Regions from separate parts of the Homo sapiens genome. Here region 2 is linked to region 1. Evidence: promoter capture Hi-C in human tissues and cell types (Jung and others, 2019). All regions are on one chromosome and are shown on one strand. Each heading gives the region's core, a stretch centred on a gene start or on the middle of the fragment in contact. The rest is flanking DNA. Distances are from core to core; before and after follow the strand shown.

Region 1 (7,618 bases), core at 2,771-5,270:
TGAAGCCCGTCCACCCTAAGGACCCAGGCACCAACGTCCCCAACGTCCTCCCCGCTTAGTTCACAAGAGTGTAGGCCCCAGCCTCCTCTTCCTTTTGGTCCGGGAGTCTGGACCCCTGGGGTCCCAGGGAGGGGGTGTGTCGGGTGCTCACACGGTGGTGACACGGGCTTGGGCGGGGCGTCATGGGGTCACATGGAGTCTAGGGATGAGGGATGTGCCCCAGGAATAGAGCCCCTTCCTGCCCCTTACAGATGGTGGGGGAGGGGAAGGGGGTACAGCGCGCAGGGGATGGGGGTTGGGTAATTACAGTGAAATTACAGAGCTGTCATTTTTTCTCTCACCTGCCCAACCCTCCACCTACCCTGTCCCTGCCCCCCTATTCCTGAACTTCCGTCTCTCTTTCTCTGGTTCGCTGTCTTTCTGTGTGTCTATTCCTTCCCGGCATTCTGTCCCCATCTCTGTGAATCTGTCCACCTGTCTCTGCCACCCCCGTCTCCATTCTTTCTGGGTCTCTCTCCCACTCTGCGTCTCCGTCCCTTTTTCTCCCGTCTCTCCTCTCCGACCCCCCGTCCCCTCTTTCTCTGGATCTCCGCCCTGTGCCTCTCGGACTCGGGGTCTCTTCTCCATCTCTATCTCCCCCACCTCACCCTCATCCCAACCCGTCTTTCCCGGCCCGCAGGTCTCCTGAAGGAAAAGGAGCGCAAGGCGGCCCTGCCTGCAGCCACAACCCCTGGGCCAGGCCTGGAGACTGCGGGCCCGGCGGATGCCCCGGCTGGGGCAGTGGTGGGCGGAGGGTCCCCGCGGGGGCGCCCGGGGCCGGTGCCCGCCCCGGGTCTGTTGGCGCCACTGCTGTGGGAGCGCACGCTGCCGTTCGGCGATGTGGAGTACGTAGACCTGGACGCCTTCCTGCTGGAGCACGGGCTCCCGCCCAGCCCGCCGCCCCCCGGTGGCCCGTCGCCGGAGCCGTCGCCCGCGCGGACGCCCGCACCCTCCCCAGGGCCGGGTTCGTGCGGCTCGGCTTCCCCCCGCTCCTCTCCTGGGCACGCCCCCGCCCGGGCTGCCCTCGGGACCGCCAGCGGCCACCGCGCAGGTGCGGCGAAGGGGGCGGGGCGGGTCCTGACGGGGCGGGGCTTGGACTCAGGGGGCGGGGCTGTGCGACGCTGGGGGCTGGGACCGTGGGACCTGGCTGCGGCCTCGAATTCTGTGTCCAGTTGTCGAGAGGTGTCGTGGGAGGGGGCCAGATTCGGTGTCTCTTAATGGGTCAGGGACCAATGGATCCATGGGGGAGGAGAGACTTGGAACCCTAAATTCCAGGAAGCCTGCCCAATGAGATTTTGTGGGTTTTTCTGTGGGACTTGGGGACAAACGATGTGGATACTCGTGAAGCCAGAACTGGAAGTCCGGAACACCAGAGTTATTTACTGGGGAGTGGACTGACCCCCGAATCTGGGCCCATAATCGATGGAACTGGGATAGGACTGGAGCCCCTAGGTCCTTTACAGGGGCAAAGGCAAAGGAGAGGCACAGAATTCTGTTTACCCAGGACATAAGAGACTGGCAGCCCAGGTCCCTGGGTCCCCCAGTGGGGCGTGCTGCAGCCCCGGGTCCCAGAGTTCTTCAGAAGGGAAAACGTTAGGGATGTTGTTTCTGGATCCTCCAATTGGGGCTGGGGCCAAGCTTCCTATATTCCTAGGAGAGGCCTGGGATCCCAGAATCGTGGTAGCCCAGTGGCGGGGGTTCTGGGAAGGTCCAGGAGGCCGATGCTCCCCGGAGAGCAGGGGGTTGGGAATCTTTGGAGGTTGAGTGGAACTAAGTGACTGGAAGAGCAAGAGGAAAGATGTTTCCCTTTGGGCACATTGAGGTCTCCAGGGACGGACTGCAGGTCGGGGATTCCTGGGCACACCTGCTCCAGGTCCGACCTCCGGGCCGAACCAGGGCCCTACCCTTCCCAGCGGCACATTCCTGCGCCACGTGAGTCCTCCCATCCCTCCTCCGCGCTTCGCGCAGGCGCCTTCAAGCGCGAGGGGGGCGGGGCCGGGGGAACGTGAGGGCGCCGATGGCGGGGGCCTGGGAGGAAGGGAGGAGGAGGGAAGCAGGCGTCAGCACGTGACTCGGCCCTGAACCTGTGTCCTTAGCTGGCCCCGGCTGGCTGGTGCTTAAAGGTACAGGCGCCTCCTTTCGAACCAATCTTCTGGAACCTTAGAGCAGCTTCTCCTCCTCTTTCCAGCGAGTAGCTCTTAGACTCTAACTTGAGAGCTTTTCAGTGCAGTAGATTCTTTTTCTCTGGACAGTCTGGGGTCTAAGCTTAGGTCGTGGATTCGGTAAGTAGGATTCAGGCTAGACTGTGCATCTGAAGTCCTGAGGTTTTAGAAGCAATAGCCCCATCGCTTCTCGGCCTTTTGGCTAAGATCAAGTGTAGAAGCAATAGCCCTGATTCGTGTGTTACCTAGGGCAAGTCAGTTATGACTGGGACTCAGTTTCCTTGTTTGTAAAGGTGGATATGGCTCCATGATCTCTAAGCATCTTTATGGCTTAGGGGAACCTTCATTTTTCTCGTTATTTTGGAGACGGAGTCTCGCTCTGTTGTCCGGGCTGGAGTGCAGTGGTATGATCTCAGCTCACTGCAACCTCCACCTCCAGGGTCCGGGTTCAAGCAATTCTCCAGCCTCAGCCTCCCTAGTAGCTGGGCTTACCGGCACCCGCCACTACACCTGGGCAATTTTCGTACTTTTAGTAAAGATGAGGTTTCTCCATGTTGGCCATGCTGGTCTTGAACTCCTGACTAAAGGTGATTCGCCGCCTCGGCTTCCCAAACTGCTGGGGTTACAGGCGTGAGCCACTGCGCCTGGCCAAGGGAACCTTCATATTTTATATTAGGGAGATTAATCCCTGGCCGAATTTATGCTAGATCCCAGAAGGACTTTCCATGTGGCTATGATACCACAGCAAAAAGTAGCTTCAGGAAACCCCCTCCTTAAAATACACACTCAGCTGACACGTGCTGTTTCCCCAAGGCCTGACCTCTCGGGACACACCCAGCCCTGTGGACCCAGACACCGTGGAGGTGTTGATGACCTTTGAACCCGACCCAGCTGATCTTGCCCTATCAAGCATTCCTGGCCACGAGACCTTTGACCCTCGAAGACATCGCTTCTCAGAAGAGGAACTTAAGCCCCAGCCAATCATGAAGAAGGCAAGAAAAATCCAGGTGCCGGAGGAGCAGAAGGTGAGCAGAGCTGGATGTGGGAGATAGACTTGGCTGGAGACATGCCCCACAGCCAGGGAGGGGCCTTTTCTCACAGTCAAGCCTGGGCTTCTCCTTGGGATTAGTGCTCAGCCTCTCCTGGCCTGCAGCCACAGATTAGTCCTCCTTGGCCACGGGGCACAAGGGGGCAGGGGCCTGAGGTTTATAAAGACAGTGTCAACTGGGCGAGGGGCCTCACTCGTGTAATCCCAGCATTTTAGGGGGCTGAGGCAGGAGGATCTCTTGAGCTCGGGAGTTCAAGACCAGCCTGGGCAACATGGCAAAACCCCATTTCTACAAGCCACTTGGGAGGCTGAGGTGGGAGGACTGCTTGTGCCTGGGAGATTGAGGCTGCAGTGAGCCAAGATTACACCACTGCACTCCAGCCTGGGCAACAGAGGGAGACCTTGTCTTAAAACAAAAGACAGTGTCACTGTGGGGTGCTGACTCAGCCAGCTCTGCTAGGTCTACTTGTAGAGACTTGGAGCTTCTCCTATTACTTGGGTCCAGAGCTCCACCAGGCACACTTGCAAAGGACAGTCTTCCTTTGGCAATGGGATATCAGCCTGTGGCCTGTCTCTCCTTACTCAGCAGGCCTTTGATCTCTGATGTGGGACTTCCTTTGGAGTGATTGCATTTGGCTAGGATGAAGACTGTGCCAGCCCCTTTAGGCCTTGTTTCCTGGGCCTGGACTTCTCACTGGTGGGAGACTTCAGGCTTCTGTTAGCAGCCAGTGCCACTTTCTGATTTGGGGTGATTTGAGCAGTCATTGCATCTTTGCATGATTTTGTTTTTTGCCATTACTGGAGTCTTCCCTAGCAAGAGTTGCTTGGGCTTCTGTTACAAGACTTTGTCATTCCGGGCCAGGCGCGTTGGCTCACGCCTGTAATCCTAGCACTTTAGGAGGCTGAGGTGGGCGGATCACTTGAGGTCAGGAGTTTGAGACCAGCCTGGCCAACATGGTGAAACCTCGCCTCTACTAAAAGTACAAAAATGTTCCGGGTGTGGTGTCTCACACCTGTAATCACAGCACTTTGGGAGGCCGAGGCGGACAGATCACGAGATCAGGAGACCATCCTGGCCAACATGGTGAAACCCCGTCTCTACAAAAAAATACAAAAATTAGCTGGGCATGGTGGCACTCATCTGTAGTCCCAGCTACTTGGGAGGCTAATGTAGGAAAATCGCTTGAACCCAGGAGACGGAGGTTGCAGTGAGCCGAGATCGCGCCACTGCACTCCAGCCTGGGCGACAGAGTGAGAACTCCATCTCAAAAAAAAAAAAAAAGAACAAAAATTAGCCGGACATGGTAGCGGGCACCTATAATCCCAGCTACTTGGGAGGCTGAGGCAGGAGAATCGCTTGAACCTGGGAGGTGGAGGTTGCAATGAGCCGAGATCATGCCACTGCATTCCAGCCTGAACGACAGAGCGAGACTCCATCTCAAAAACAAACAAGACTTTGCCATACCCTTGCGTAACACATAGCTACTTGAAGCACCTAGGACTGGCCTGGAAGTCAGATCTACACCAGTGGTTTCTCCTTCTAGAGGGCCCTGTTGCTAGGGACTGGATTTACCCTCACAAGCAGGAACTGGGCTTTAATTAAATAGTGGAGTAGAGAGCATCTTTCTGAGCCCCGTGGTCCTTGGTTACTAAGGAGGAGTCTTCCTTAGGAACCAACTTCCAGGATGGGAGGACTTTAGGTATAATCCTCTGGGGAGGTCTCAGGATAGTCCCCTTTCCTAAGAGACAGCTCTTCTCTCAGTCAGGTCCTACTGGGGAGGAGGCTATTCTCTGGCCTCAGTTCAAGGCCAGCAGGTCAGAGGCTGGCCACAGTCATTGAAACCACTTAGACCTCACTTTTGTTTGCCAAGGATGGATGAGGTTGCCTTGGCAACCAGGTCAGAAGGCCCCAGCTCTGCGAGGATTTTATGGGACACCAAACCCCATCACCAGGGCACCAAGCTTTCCTTAGCAACCAGGATCTGGAAAGGCAATGTGCAGGGCAGGGCAGTGCTCTTCATTGGGAGAAGCCCTCAGACCATGAAGGCCTTGTTGCTAGGGAACAAGCATCCTTAGCAAGCAAGAGCTAACTGCATGCAGGCCTTTATCATGTGGGGAGGGCTGGGGTCCGCTTTGCAGAGTGGAGACTTGAAGCGAGTTGCTTGAGGGTGGGGGGTCTATCTCATGCCTTTACTGTTGCTAGGGGCCCAATCTCCTTAGCAACCAGGGCCCTAGAAAGGCAGACCCTTGGGTACCTATCCCAGCAGAGACCTGGTGTGGTTTAGGCCCCGCTGCTGGGGCTCCCTTCCTCTCTCGCTGGGACCTGGGTCCCTCTGGACCTCAGTGCTCTCCCCCTCTTCTCCTGCAGGATGAGAAATACTGGAGCCGGCGGTACAAGAACAACGAGGCAGCCAAGCGGTCCCGTGACGCCCGGCGGCTCAAGGAGAACCAGATATCGGTGCGGGCGGCCTTCCTGGAGAAGGAGAACGCCCTGCTGCGGCAGGAAGTTGTGGCCGTGCGCCAGGAGCTGTCCCACTACCGCGCCGTGCTGTCCCGATACCAGGCCCAGCACGGGGCCCTGTGAGGCTGCCCCACATCCCCACCTGGCGGAGCTCTCCTCCGCCTTGCTGAGACTTACGCCCTGTTCCCTTCCTGCCCTGTGGCCCACGGGCCGGCCAGCTGGGTGCCCCAGGGACGTGATAATGCAGATAAATACATTTATATTTTTAAGAAAAAGCGAGCCTCCCCCCTCCCTTGCGGGGGCGGGGAGGGTTCTCTGTGTGTGTCCCCGGCACGTCAGGGACCCTATCCTCCCACCGCCTCCGTTAACACGATCCTGAATAAATCTTGAGAACCCCAGAGCCAGCTGTTGTGGAAGAAGAGGGCAGCTCCCTGGCATACTGGCTGCAGCCCGTGGGCAGCTCCGGGCTGTCGTCCATAGAGGGCAGGCGCTGCTGGAAGTGCTGGAGTCTGAGTCCTCCCGCGGGCTGTCGGATGGAGGAAGGGCAGAAGGTCTGAGAGGAATGAAGCGACTGCCTTTATTGCATAGACCTTTTCAATTGCTTTTTAGATTGGGGACGGAGGACGCGCATGAGACGAACAGGGGATATGAATTTCCCCGCCCCCACCCGCGGGGAGAGGAACATTAGTGCAAATCCTAGCGCCGGCCCCGGGGAACCTGCCCCTCCTGGGCTGATTGGCCAGCTAAATGGAGGCACCGGAGTGGATGGGGCGAGGCTGCGGGCCCTGACCGGCCGACTCACTGAGGCCTACCCCAGCCAGTACATTCCAGGTCCTGTCATTGGGCGACGCGTAAAATAGACTCCGCCCTCAGCCATCCTGGCCGGGTAGGAGCAGGTGGCAAGCGTCAGGACTGAGCCCTGCCCCGTAAGGGCGGCCCCAGATCAGACGCCAGGCCCCGCCCTCATTGATCAGGCACTACCCTCGGGACGAGCCCATTTCTCTTTAACCGTGACGACGCCCACCTTCCAGCATCACGTCTGGTCCCATGAAAGCGAGCGCAATCCTGAGACGGGGCCAGGGCCCCTGCCACCACAACTCTAGCAGCCAGGCCACACCCCCTAGCTCAGGCTCCGCCCCATTGGAATGTAGGCCCCGCCCCCGGCGGGTACCAAGCTTGTTTAGTTTCAGGGCTCCCGCCCCGGGCAGCCAGGAGGCCCAGTGAGCAGTGTACCGATGCCAGGGTGCATCTGTGCCTGTAGCGGCCCATACTCCACCTGCTCCCCGTCCACTGTGAGCACGCCGCGTGGTGTGAGCGGCTCTAGGCGGAAGGCACGGGCCGCGGCGTAGCCCAGCTGCGGACAGCCCAGGCTGAAGTGGCTACCACGCTCCATGGCCAAGAAAAGGCGCAGCAGCGCAGCCCGCGAGATGCCGCTACGCACCCAGCACAGGTGCACCAGGCCGTCGTCGAAGCGCGCATGCGGAGCTGCCACCAGGTCAGCGCCTAGGTGGCTGGGCGAGATGGCCAACATGAGCACAAAGTCCCCCTCCAGCGTCACCCAGTCTGGGGGCAGCGGGGTGCCCAGCGGAGGCAGCAGGTGGTCGGGCGGGCCGCAGGTGGAGGCCCCTACCCGGGCATCAGGGGTGGGAAGTGGGAGCCCAGAGGATGGGGGAATTACGGGGGCCCCTTCGGAGACGGGTGAGTGTAGAGCTGCCTTGGGAGAGCCAGGAGGTGAAGACAGCAGTGGGTCCGGGGACAGCGGAGCATCCCCAGCCCCACCCCAGTCCCCAGCCAGCTCTGGGCCCCCACCGTTGAGGGACAGGATGGGCAGGGGTTCTGGCGAGCCAGGAGAGGCCAGGGCAGGCTGGGGCAGGGGAAGAGGCAGGTCAGACACAGAACGATGCAGGG
Region 2 (7,618 bases), core at 1-2,500, 300 kb before region 1:
GGGTGGAAGGGAGGCAAAGGAGGAGGCTCTGGCCAGGGGAAGGGGAGACGTGGTCCTGGGGGAAGAGATGACGGGGGCTGGACATTTGGGCCCTGGGAAAGAGAGATCTGGGGGAAAGCCGTTATTAAATCCCCCAATATTGAAATTATCTTCATAGTAGCTTACATCAAGGCCTTTCCAAACCTCAAGACACTCAGGTTTGTGTGGGGAAAAGAAAGAGAGATCAGATTGTTACTGTGTCTATGTAGAAAAGGAATCTGTATCATGAATAAGTTCAAGGAAAGGTGCTGTGACCGGATGTGCACGTAGGCTAGATTTATGTTTCACTTTACACAAACATCTCAGTGTAGCAAAGAGTAACAGAGCAGTATCACTGCCAGCATATCTCGCCTCCAGCCACAGGTAGGTTTTCTCCTATCTCAGAATAGAAGGAATGGGAATGGTCCGCTTTACACTGAGACAGTCCATTCCCAGGGAGAGCAGGAGACAGAAGCCTTCCTCTTATCTCAACTGCAGAGAGGCCTCCCTCTTTCACTACTCCTCCTCAGCACAGACCCTTTACTGGTGTCGGGCTAGGGGATGTAAGGTCTTCCTTTCCCACGAGGCCATATCTCAGGCTTTCTCAGTGGGGGGAAACCCTGGACAATACCCAGGCTTTCTTGGGCAGAGGTCCCTGCGGCTTTCCGCAGTGCAATGTGCCCCTGGTTAATAGAGAATGGAGAATGGCGATGACTTTTACCAAGCATACTGCCTGCAAACATATTGTTAACAAGGCACATCCTGCAAAGCCCTAAATCCATTAAACTTTGATTCAATACAGGACATGTTTCTGTGAGCACACGGTTGGGGCTAAAGTTACAGGTTAATAGCATCTCAAAGCAGAAACAATTTTTCTTAGTACAGTTCAAAATGGAGTTTCTTATGTCTTCATTTTCTACGTAGACACAGTAACAATCTGATCTTTCTTTTCCCCACAGGTTTGCAGAACAGAGATGGAGAAGGAGGTAGCAAGGAAACAGACGTTTCACTGCAATGACGACCCACTCACTAGTCCTGAACCCTAAACTCCCTCCTCCTTTAGACTCTGGAGTCCCGCCCCCCGCCTCCTCTTCCCCAGAATCCGGAGGGCGGGCAGACCTGGTGCTCAGAGCGAGGCAGCGTCTGCAGCACGGCTGTGAAGTCGCTGGAGATGAGGCCGACAGACACGATGCCCCAGCGCAGCGCCATGGTTGCGATGCGGAGCCCTCGGCACCTTCGGTCCCTCCAGGCGCGAATTAAGTACCTGACGCCCCGCCCACCCCGGGGGCGGGTCCCCATCCTCCGCCCGTATTGCGCCTACGCCGATTCTCGTTGGCTCCAGTCGGCAGAGCGGTCATTTAGTTCTAGCTTCCCCGCTGGGCGAATGCACCGTTTAGCTCCGCCTTACAGAGGGAACCACACCTTGACGTCGCTTCTACAGATCTCTTACCTATGACTTTAGGCTCGTCGGATACGCGGGGTAAGGACAGCGTGGGGAGGAGAGGTTTGCTTTCTTGCCAACACCAATCCTTGAGAGTTAGATTTAATGTCTTGCCCTCTGGACTTTGTGGCAAAACTTTGCCCTGACTTTTTTGCTCTCAAAGCCACGCATCATTAGGGGTTGTTCACAGAGAGAGAGAGGATTGTAACAGCAAACTTAATAATTATTACTAATATGTATAGAGCACCTGTAGACCAGCTCCTCAGCTCTGCGCTTTACCTTCTTCGTTCCTAATTTCTCCCCGCAGACCTGGGAAGTAGCTTCTATTGTCCCCAGTTCACAAAGGGGGAAACAGACTCCAAGATCCCTGGTCATTTTTTGGAGGTCTCACAGTCAGGAGGTAAAGACCTGTGAATTGGCTGCTTCCAGAAGCTATAGTTTTAGAAACCAGGCTGCTTTGCTTGTTAGGAGCCCCAGAGCCTGGCCGACTGGTTTCAAAACCCTCCTTGCCCCTTCTTGGCTGTATTGCTTTTGGACAAGAGGTCGCCCTCTCTGGTCCTCACTTTTCTATTCTGGAAAGCAGAGATCATGATAACATCTACCTACATAGGGTTGTGAGGAGGATTCATTGAGCTCTATGGTCTATTATGTAAAATATACTGTATTATTATAATTATTATTGATATAGGGTCTCGCTCTGTCGCCCAGGAAGGAGTGCAGTGGCACAATCATAGCTCACTGCAGCCTCAAATTCCTTAGCTCAAGGAATTAGCTCCTGCCTTAGCCACCCTAGTACCTGGGACTACAGTAGCTGGGACCCAAAGTAGCTACTGGCTACTACACCTGGCTAATTATTTTGTTTTATTTATTAATTATTTTAGAGATAGGGTCTCACTCTGTTACCTAGCTGGACTGCAGTGGCGTGATAATAGCTCACAGCAGCCTTGTACTCCTGGGCTCAAGCTATCTTCCCGCCTCAGCCTCCTGAGTAGCTGGGAGTATAGGCATGTGCCCCACTTACCGCTATTTGTTTGTTTGTTTGTTTGAGACGGAGTCTCACTCTATCCCCAGGCTGGAGTGCAGTGGTGTGATCTCAGCTCACTGCAACCTCCGCCTCCCTGGTTCAAGTGATTCTCCTGCCTCAGCCTCCTGAGTAGCTGGGACCACAGGCGCCCTCCACCATGCCCAGCTAATTTTTTTTATTTTTAGTGGAGACAGGGTTTCACCATGTTGGCCAGGATGGTCTCGATCTCCTGACCTTGCGATTTGCCTGCCTTGGCCTCCCAAAGTGCTGGGATTACAAGCATGAGCCACTGCACCCAGCCTGCTAATTTTTGTTGCTGTTGTTGTTTGTTTTTTGTTTTTGAGACGAAGTCTCGCTCTGTCATCCAGGCTGGGGTGATCATGCAGTGGCATAATCTTGGCTCACTGCAACCTCCACCTCCCAGTTTCAAGCAATTCTCCTACCTCAGCCTCCCGAGTAGCTGGGATGACAGGCGCCCACTACCACGCCCGACTAATTTTTGTATTTTTACTAGAGATGGGGTTTCACTGTGTTGGCCAGGCTGGCCTCGAATTCCTGACCTCAGGTGATCCGCCTGCCTTGGCCTCCCAAAGTGCTGAGATTACCTGCATGAGCCACCATGCCCAGCAATTTTTTGTACAGAAAAGGTCTCACTTTGTTGTCCAGGCTGGTCTCCAATTCCTGGGCTCAAGCAATCCTCCTGCCTCAGCCTCCCAAAGTGCTGGGATTATAGGTATGAGACACTGTGTCCAGTCGATTTTTAAACTTTTTATCAAGGCAGGGTCTTGCCAAGTTTCCCAGGCTGGTTGGGACATGATAATTCCTAACTGGCTGGCCAGCTTCACACAGGGCAGGATATTGTCACTTTCTCTTACTTGGTAGACAATAATTAAGACCTGAGTGTCACACATGGATTCACAGACTTCAAGTTTACACAAACTGCTGAATAGAAACACAAATGGGACCAGGCACGGTGGTTCACGCCTGTAATCCCAGTACTGTGGGAGGCCCAAATGGGAGGAATGCTTGAAGCCAGGACTTTGAGACCAGCCTGGGCAACAAAGCAAGACCCCATCTCTACCAAAAAAAAAAAGTGGGGGGAGGGGGCAGGGCATAGTGGCTCATGCCTGTAATCCTAGCACTTTGGGAGGCCGTGGTGGGCGGATCACTTAAGGTCAGGAGTTCGAAACCAGCCTGGCAAACATGGTGAAACCCCCATCTCTACTAAAAATACAAAATAATTAGCCAAGCATGGTGGCGGACGCCTGCAATCCCAGCTTCTTGGGAGGCTGAGGCAGGTAAATTGCTTGAACCTGGGAGGAGGAGGTTGCAGTGAGCCAAGATCGCACCACTGCTCTCCAGCCCGGGTGACAGAGAGAGACTCTGTCTCAAAAAAAAAAAAAAAAAAAAAAAAAGGTTTAGGGGGAGGGAAATCCACATAGGACACAATATCATTACTATGAAGAAAAAGAAAAAATCATTTAATAATAAATATCAAAAAATAATTTTGATACTCCCAGGTATTTGTCCTAGAAAGAAAAAATAACATGTTTGCACACAAACCAGTGCACAGGTGTTAGCAGCTGTACATAGCTCAAGCCCAAATGTCCTTTAAGCTGCCAGTGGATTCAACAAAATACTACTCAGCGGCCAGGCACAGTGGCTCACACCTGTAATCCCAGCACTTTGGGAGGCCAAGATGGGTGGATCACCAGGTCAGGAGATCAAGACCATCCTGGCTAACACGGTGAAACCCCATCTCTACTAAAAATACAAAAAATTAGCCAGGCGTGGTGGCGGGCACCTGTAGTCTGGAGGCTGAGGCAGGAGAGTGGCGTGAGCCTGGGAGGCAGAGGTTACAGTGAGCCGAGATCACACCACTGCACCCCAGCCTGGGCAACAGAGGAAGACCCGGTCTAAAAAAAAAAATATATATATATAATATATATATATATTTTTTTTTTGAGATGAAGGTTTGCTCTGTCACCCAGGCTGGAGTGCAGTGGTTCGATCTCAGCTCACTGCAAGCTCTGCCTCCCGGGTTCACGCCATTCTCCTGCCTCAGCCTCCCAAGTAACTGGGACTACAGGCGCCCACCACCACGCCTGGCTAATTTTTTGTATTTTTAGTAGAGACAGGGTTTCACTGTGTTAGCCAGGATGGTCTTGATCTCCTGACCTCGTGATCCGCCCTCCTCGGCCTCCCAAAGTGCTGGGATTACAGGCGTGAGCCACTGCGCCCGGCCTAAAATTATTACTTTCTTATTGCTGCACTCCAGCACCTCAGAGGAGGCAAAAAGGTAAACACTGAAAAGAAAATATGCCGGGCACGGTGGCACATGCCTGTAATCCCAGCACTTTGGGAGACTGTGGCGGGCAGATCTCTTGAGCCCAAGAGTTCGAGACCAACCTGCAAAAAATTAGCCAGGTGTGGTGGTGTGCATCTGTATTCCCAGCTACTAGGGAGGCTGAAGCGGGAGGATCGCTTGAGCTGGGAAGGTTGAGGCTGCAGTAAGCTATGATGGCACCTCTGTACTCCAGCCTGGGCAACAGAGTGAGACTCTGTCTCAAAAAAGAAAAAAGAGGGCGGGCGTAGTGGCTCACGCCTGTAATCCCAGCACTTTGGGAGGCCGAGGCGGGCGGATCACCTGAGGTCAAGAGTTTGAGACCAGCCTGGCCAACAGGGTGAAACCCCATCTCTACTAAAAATACAAAAATTAGCTGGGCGTGGTGGTGTGCACCTGTAATCCCAGCTACTTGGGAGGCTGAGGCACTGGAATCGCTTGAACCCAGGAGGCAGAGCTTGCAGTGAGCCGAGATCACGCCACTGCACTCTAGCCCGGGCAACAGAGTGAGACTCTGTTGCCCAGGAAAAAAAAGAAAAAAAAAAAAAAGAAAAAGAAAAAAGAAGAAAAAGAAAATGCTGTGGGGCGCTGCCATGTGGAAAGACATTTGGGAAAGGCTAAAAGAACCCACTGCACACTTAATGGTATATCACATGTCAGTACCCGGTCAGACTCGCCTCTGGTAACATGGAGGTAGACACTCTAGCAAGAATTAGAACACTGGGTCCCTCACAATCCTCAAGGGCTTGGAGCAACTCAGTATTGTGTATAGACTGCAGATTTCCCTTACCATATAATCTTCAAGTGGCAGGATTGATTAAAAAGAAAAATGGCCAGGCGCGGTGGCTTACGCTTGTAATCCCAGCACTTTGGGAGGCCGAGGTGGTCGGATCACGAGGACAGGAGATCAAGACCATCCTGGCTAACACAGTGAAACCCCATCTCTACTAAAAATACAAAAAATTAGCCGGGCATGGTGGCGGGCGCCTGTAGTCCCAGCTACTCAGGAGGCTGAGGCAGGAGGATGGCGTGAACCCGGGAGGCAGAGCTTGCAGTGAGCCGAGATCACGCCACTGCACTCCAGCCTGGGTGACACAGCAAGACTCTGCCTCAAAAAAAAAAAGAAAGAAAGAAAGAAAGAAAAATGGCATTTAAAAAAATTTTTTTGCAGGTTTTATTTATTTATTTATTTATTTGAGACAAAGTCTGGCTCTGTTGCTCCAGCCTGGGTGACAGCGCCACACTCCGTCTCAAAAAAAAAACAGAAAATAAAATTTTTTTTTGTAGAGATGGTGTCTCACCATGTTGCCTAGGCTGGCCTCCAACTCTTGGGCTGAAGTGATCCTCCCACCTCGGCCTCCCAAAGCACTAGGCATGAGCCACCAAGCCTGGCCCAACTATCCATTATGCATAGTTGTAAAGCAAGTCTGGCCAGACGCATTTATACTGGAGCTGATAAAAGGCCAATGGTAAACACTATTTAGGATTTCCCAGAATCTTGAGCCAAGGGGAGGGGTTGGACTGGCAAATTCCCCAGACTGGATAGGGTGTTTCTTGTCAGAGGGCAAGAATTTCTCGGGCAGCTGCAGTGGTCTCCCTTGATCCTCTTGGGGTTGGGGCCAAAACAATCCACTTACCCCTACACTAGAACATGGTCCCTTTTTTTTTTTTTTTTTTTTTGGACGGAGTCTTGCTCTGTCACCCAGGCTGGAGTGCAGTGACACAATTTCAGCTCACTGCAACTTCCGCCTCCTGGGTTCAAGCGATTCTCCTGCCTCATGAGTAGCTGGGATTACAGGCGCCCATCACCACACCCAGCTAATTTTGTATTTTTAGTAGAAATGCGGTTTTACCATGTTGGCCGGGCTGGTCTCGAACTCGTGACCTCAAGTGATCCACCTGCTGCGGCCTCCCAAATTGCTGGGTTATAAGCGTGAGCCATTGTTCACAGGCTGAGTGACGTAGTTTAATGTTATTTATTTATTTATTTTTTAAGACGGAGTTTTGCTTTTGTTGTCCAGGCTGGAGTGCAATGGCGTGATCTCGGCTCACCGCAACCTCCACCTCCTGGGTTCAAGCGATTCTCCTGCCTCAGCCTCCTGAGCAGCTGGGATTACAGGCATGCGCCACCAGGCCCGGGTAATTTTGTATTTTCAGTAGAGACGGGGTTTCTCAACGTAGGTCAGGCTGGTCTCAGACTCCTGACCTCGGGTGATTCGCCTGCCTCAGCATCCCAAAGTGCTGAGATTACAGGCGTGAGCCACCGCGCCCAGCCTCGTGACTTTATTTTAAAATGCTACTCTGCCATGTGATTTTTTTCCTTTTTTAAGAGACGGGGTTTGTAATCTCAGCTACTTGGGAGGCTGAGGCAGGAGAATTGCTTGAACCCGGGAGGTGGAGGTTGCAGTGAGCCGAGACTGTGCCATTGCACTCCAGCCTGGGGGACACAGCAAGACTCCGTATCAAAAAAAAAAAAAAAAGAAAAAGAAAGAAACAGGGTTGGCTGGGCGTGGTGGCTCATGCCTATAATCCCAGCACTTTGGGAGGCAGAGGAGGGCAGATCACCTGAGGACAGGAGTTTGAGACCGGCCTGGCCAACATGGCGAAACCCTGTCTCTACTAAAAATACAAAAATTAGCTGGGCGTGGTGGGCGCCTGTAATCCCAGTTACTCAGGAGGCTGAGGCAGGAGAATCACTTGAACCCGGGAGGCGGAGGTTGCAGTGAGCCGAGATCGAGCCACCGGCAACAAGAGTGAGACTCTGTCTCAAAAAAAAAAAAAAAGAGACGGG

Evidence for each region. The method cuts DNA at HindIII sites, captures the fragments that hold promoters and counts their contacts. A contact is called where the count stands out against the background at its distance.
Region 2: the fragment with the promoter of DHDH here is called in contact with a fragment that was not itself captured in region 1 in 3 of the 25 tissues and cell types used here (aorta, dorsolateral prefrontal cortex and thymus).

What each region holds. Positions count from the first base shown.
Region 1 is chr19:48,629,052-48,636,669 of GRCh38, reverse strand. DBP (D-box binding PAR bZIP transcription factor) reads left to right here. Exons shown (of 4, transcript NM_001352.5): 2 at 680-1,090; 3 at 3,015-3,226; 4 at 5,618-6,640. The coding sequence ends at 5,833. SPHK2 (sphingosine kinase 2) reads right to left here. Exons shown (of 7, transcript NM_020126.5): 7 at 6,265-7,618. The coding sequence ends at 6,897. Among named protein-coding and RNA genes, the nearest start is that of DBP, 4.5 kb to the left of the region's middle. RefSeq lists silencers at 740-799, 920-1,229, 1,940-2,119. The HindIII fragment of the contact is 4,057 bases long and covers 1,992-6,048 here.
Region 2 is chr19:48,927,331-48,934,948 of GRCh38, reverse strand. It overlaps DHDH (dihydrodiol dehydrogenase), which reads right to left and starts at 1,250. Exons shown (of 7, transcript NM_014475.4): 1 at 1,138-1,250. The coding sequence starts at 1,227. RefSeq lists an enhancer at 1,176-1,677. The HindIII fragment of the contact is 30,682 bases long and covers 1-7,618 here.